Linked DNA regions of Homo sapiens: region 2 is linked to region 1. The links are contacts of gene promoters, found by promoter capture Hi-C in blood cells and fetal thymus (Javierre and others, 2016). All regions are on one chromosome and are shown on one strand. The core of a region is centred on a gene start or on the middle of the fragment in contact, and the rest is flanking DNA. Distances in the headings are between cores, read along the strand shown.

The links. The method cuts DNA at HindIII sites, captures the fragments that hold promoters and counts their contacts. A CHiCAGO score of 5 or more calls a contact.
Region 2: a fragment that was not itself captured here is called in contact with the fragment with the promoter of OR10K1 in region 1 in 1 of 17 cell types (fetal thymus); the score reaches 8.6 in fetal thymus.

The regions. Positions count from the first base shown.
Region 1 is chr1:158,460,505-158,463,137 of GRCh38, forward strand. OR10K1 (olfactory receptor family 10 subfamily K member 1) reads left to right here and starts at 1,330. Exons shown (of 2, transcript NM_001004473.2): 1 at 1,330-1,400. It overlaps LOC107985212 (a long non-coding RNA gene), which reads right to left and starts at 2,267. Exons shown (of 2, transcript XR_001738256.3): 1 at 1,667-2,267; 2 at 1-1,246. The HindIII fragment of the contact is 25,948 bases long and covers 1-2,633 here.
Region 2 is chr1:158,246,310-158,248,942 of GRCh38, forward strand. It overlaps a transcript of CD1A not described here. Among named protein-coding and RNA genes, the nearest start is that of CD1A, 6.8 kb to the right of the region's middle. The HindIII fragment of the contact is 6,630 bases long and covers 1-2,633 here.

The DNA.
Region 1 (2,633 bases), core at 80-2,579:
TTGGCTGCTGGTTCAGAGTATATTCTGCTTTGGGCAGACACATGGGGCTGTACTAGGTATTGGCACAGAGCCAGTGCAGTAACTGAGCCTCAAGTAAACCGTTTCATATTCCACCAGGTCACCTCCTTCTGAGCGGTGGAATACACAGAGGCTTCCCAGTATTATTTAGTACATAATTATAATTCTCTCACTGACTTGTGAGGTCACTTCTGCCAAAGACCAAGTTCTCAAATACACATACATTAATTTCTGAGCTCTCCTTTCTGTCTCTATACTACTTATTTCTTCTTGCACCAATAGCATGCTCTTTTTTATTACTAAAGCATAGTTTTTTTTTACTAGGAAGAGTGAGGGCCTATATTACTTGCCCTTTACAAAATTGTTTTATAATTTCATGAAAATTTTGGAAATCTGATTGTCAGGGTGACTTCAAAATTTATGCATGGATTTGGGTTGGAATTATATTGGCTTTATAGATTAGCTTGAACAAAATTCACAACTCTATATTATTTTGTCATTCTGGTAAAATGCATTAATAAGATAACACACTGTTTGATGACAGAGCTCAACTAGATTTAGTATACTTACTAAAATTTTAGGTTTTTGCAAAACATCTCAATGTTCTTAATTAGAGTTTCTAGGGGCAGCGCCCTGGAAAACATCATTCAACCCTCTTTTGATTCTTAGAAACACTGAAGTTGAGTGTCATTGGACAAATACATCAGTCTTCTGATTAAAATTCAGTAAAAATTTTCCACTTGGTCTGTTGCATTACAGTCTTAATTGTGGTGGGCTCTCCTTCAGAATCCATCACAACTTTCAAATGGACTCAACTTTCAAAGCATACATGGGCTAATTATGCTCATGACTTCAACTCCCCAGGCTCCTCAACTGAGGCCACCTTTGAGAAACTGGTGACATTATTTTTTCCAAAATGAACTTGACTCCTAATTAACCCCAAGACAACAGCTCCAGTGCAGTAGATCTAACCTCAGGAGTCCAGTGTTTACAGTACATGCTTCTAATAACCACATCCCACGTTGGTCATCAGAACTTCTGAAGATGGTGACTTATCTGGAGAAGCTGGGAGTCCTGATAGATGGAGGAGGCTAGCTCTGTTGATTCAGATGAGAGTTTCTATCTCAAGGCAGCTTCCCTCTCATTTGCTGTTATTTCCTCAGGCTCTGATTTGTGGCAGTGGTGCTACTTGTCAGGAGACTGCCAAATACTGAATAGCTGCTTCTCTCTAAATTAGAAGGGAGAGAGCAATGTAAGTACTTACCGAGCAGTGGGAACATTGACCTAGCTTGGGGATTTGTGGGGACTGGACTTGAATGATGGGTAGTGTTTGAGAAAGCCTCTTTCTGTGCCTCCCATGGAGATCAGTGATGGCATTTCTGGTAAGTAGCAGAGTTAAAAAGGAGAATCAGAGGCTACCTTTCACTGAACTTACTAAGAGTGACTGGGAATGGCCTTTATAATTCTCAGAATTTGGCTGGGTGTAGTGGCTCACCCCTGCAATCCCAACACTTTGAGAGGACAAGATGGGTGAATCACCTGAGGTCAGGAGTTTGAGACCAACCTGGCCAACATGATGAAACCCCGTCTCTACTAAAAATAAAAAAATTAGCCAGGCATGGTTGCGTGCACCTGTAATCCCAGCTACCTGGGAGGCTGAGGCAGGAGAATTTCTTGAACCTGGGAGGCAGAAGTTGCAGTGAGCCGAGACCGTGCCATTGCATTCCAGCCTGGGAAACAGAGTGAGACTCCTTCTGAAAAAAAAAAAAAAATTATCTGAATTGTTCTTGAAGATCATATTGGGTCATTCTTACTCATAGCTAGATTTTATTTTCTTTTTTCTTTTCCTTCCTTCCTTCCTTTCTTCCTTACTTCCTTCCTCCCTTCCTTCTTTCCTTCCTTCCTTCCTCCTCTACTTCTCTTTTTTGTTCATTGGTGGATTCATGGATTAAATGAAACAGATACTCCACTTGTCTCTCATCTCTCACTCTTCTACTTCTGTTTCTGCTGTGTACTCCTGGATGTATAATTTTAGGTATAATTGAAATCTAGTACTTAAACTCCATTTTAATATGGCAATCTGGAGAAATTAAAGATTTTTATTTGTATCTAAGAAGTTAAAATTTCACTCCTTTATTATCTGAAGCTGCTTACATAATTTCTCTCAGCTAACTGATTGATGTTTTCCTTAAAATAAATATTTATATTTCTTAAAAGTTTTACACGTGAAAACTCTGTAGATTGCCTTCTTTTGGGGGAACCCAGCACCCTCAAGTACTTTGTTTCTATTTAAATCCAGATTACATAAAATCCCAGTGGAGCATCTGAGGAATTAGAAAAATAAAACACTGAAGTAGCATCTCCAAGGATCATAGCCTGAATTCTATTCATACGTTCTAAAATATCACAATTAAGGGGATTTTGAGATCATCTAACTAGAGAGTCTTTGATTCTCTGAGCAAGAAAGGCTCCTAGGGGTCATAGTACTCCGATACTATCTTAGTCAAAATTCCTCTGTAAAATGTTCAGGGATCCTCTGCTTCAGTGCCTTCCACATATCCCAACAGTTTATTCCATTACTGTTTATGCTATCCCTTTAATTAAAAAAAAAACTA
Region 2 (2,633 bases), core at 37-2,536, 210 kb before region 1:
TTTTCAGCCATGCTTTCTTTAAATATTTCCTCTTCCAATTGTGTGTTTTGTCTTTTAATGAAATTCCTATTGGGCTCATATTGGATTTCATACTAATTTTCATATATCTTAACTTCTTTCGTATTCAACACTTCTTTATCTCTATATTGCATTAGAGGAAATTCTTCAGCTCTCCCAATTTAGAAGTCTTTTTAAATTGCTTTCTGTCTTTGTTGTTTAATCTACTCATTGAGTTTTTATAGTAATTAGCGTTTATATTTCTAGAAGTTTAATTTGCTTTAAAATATGTTTGATATTTTTTGATAATGTCTTTTCAAACCTTTTGACTTTAAGGTTTTAAAATATAAATTCCTCTATATGTGATATCTTAGGGAAATGAAACTATTTATTCTGTCTGCCAACTTTCCTTCATCATGGAATCTTTCTCCCTGTGCTAAGTTTGGATGGTGACCTCATCTTAGGAAAGGCTTTTTGTGAAATATCCTTTGCAGCTTGTATTGAGGGTGGTTCTCTTGAGATAACTTTGCTTTAAATTCCACCAGGTGGCACACCTGGAATTACATTTGTTTTGTTTTGTTTTGTTTTGTTTTGAGACAGAGACTTGCTCTGTCGCCCAGACTGGAGTGCAGAGGCGCGATCTTGGCTCACAGCAACCTCCGCCTCCTGGGCCCAAGAGATTCTCGTGCCTAGGCCTCCTGAGTAGCTGAGATTACAGTTGTGCGCAACCACGCCTGGCTAATTTTTGTCTTTTTAGTAGTGACAAAGTTTCGCCATGTTGGCCAGGCTGGTCTGAAACTCCTGAACTCAGGTGATCCGCCCGCCTAGGCCTCTCAAAATGCTGGGATTATAGGTGTGAGCCACTGTGCACAGCATGGAATTACTTTTAAAATTAATTTCTTAGTTTGTGAATTTCAGGCTCATGCAAGTAGATACTTTTGAACTTCAAACTCAGACCTGTGATTAGCAATTCTCAGAAGGAGAAAAACCAAAAAACAATCCAATCCATATAATTGGATGGATTTTTTTTCTACTCTATTTGTCCATTCTATCACTGAAGTGAGGATATAGCAGAAGCCTCAGTTGCAAGTCTTATTACCTATTTTTTTTTTTTTAAATCCTAAGGCCTTGTTTCCTGATCCAAGTGACTAACAGTAGCCAAACTCCTAGGGATCTATACAAGACAATGCTTAATATGTCCAGGTGTGGATCCTGTTTGCCTTTCTGGGTTTCCATTTCTTTGCCCCCTAGAGAGCTTTCTTTATTTCATTGTAAATGCAGCTATGCATTTAAAAATAATTTTTAAAAATCTTGCATTTCTGGGTGTTTTGTGTTAGTATGTCTTTGCAGGTCATGTAGTGTGCTGTCTTTCCAGAAGCAGAATCCCTGGCTGTTTTATGTGTTACGCACAGAAATCCAAGGGTCATGTGACAAGGCAATGCTTCAGGTTAGGAAAGTGAGTCCAGGAGGAGGGACTGAGGTTAGATTGAATGGATAGGAAGTATGAGAAATTGAAGAGGAGGCTCTGGGAGCTGAGATAAAGGCTAAGGGAGGATGACAGTGAAGACAGAGAAGAGAGAGAAAGGTGGAGGAAGAACACATGTATGGGAAGGAACAGGAGCACAGTAAGACACAAAGAATAAGCCATAGTGATATTAGAGACTATTCAGTTCTTTCAATCTAGTTATTTTACAGATAAAGAAACTGAGGCCAAAGTGTTAAGGATCTCTCCAATTCAACACCTCCAACAGGTGTCCCATGTGGGGGTTCATCTTGACTCAGTCTACAGCTCCTTTTACTGTAAGAGATGTGCGTGAGAGGCCAGCAGCACACAGGCAGATAAAGCGAGTCCTTCCAGAAGCCAGAATGGCAAGGAAAAACTTGAAGCAGAGTGAGAGGGAAAATGAGAAGCCCAGAAAAGGCATGTGGTTATGAGAGGCAGTGGTTTCTGTGGCCAGGAAATTGAGGTTTCTGTTAGTGAAGAGGAGGAAGTCAGATGAGATGAGACCATGTGGGGAGGGGAGCTTTCATATCTGGGTTCTGAGGAGAGCTTCAATGGGGAAGGAAGAATTTAGGAGCCATGTTTGCGTTTGGAGGAGCAACAGGTAAGTGCTGCTACAGTGAACAGGAACATGCTTTTGGCCTGAACACCAATGGTTCAAGAAAGTGGATCCTGGGGAAAGGTTTGGTGGCAAAGGGAAGAATATGGACTTGCCTAGGATAGCTGGGACACCTGTCTGATTGAGTTCTAATCAGGGTATATGTTATTCACACTAGTTTGCTTCTCTGGGGTTTCCTGTGTCCAGGGAGTACAAAATTATCAGTGATTAGTGATAGCCATCCCCTTCTCTCTTAATTATTTTCCTTTTCTCCAGTTCTGGTCACCTTCCTTACCTATTTTATCTCTTGATTTTTCCCTAGCATTCTGCTCTTTCTCAGCCCCCACCCCCAATTTCTCAGCACCCCCAGCCAGCTCCCAAGAAGCCCTGTTCCCTTCTGTTCCCTCCTTCAGATCCTGCCCTGTACCCATCATAGCTGAGTGAACACTCAGGAGTGGAGTTGGCTGGGAAAATTGCAGACCCACAGTAGGACTACAGCTCTCACCAGCTGCTGCCTGCGTCTCTGATAAAGATCAG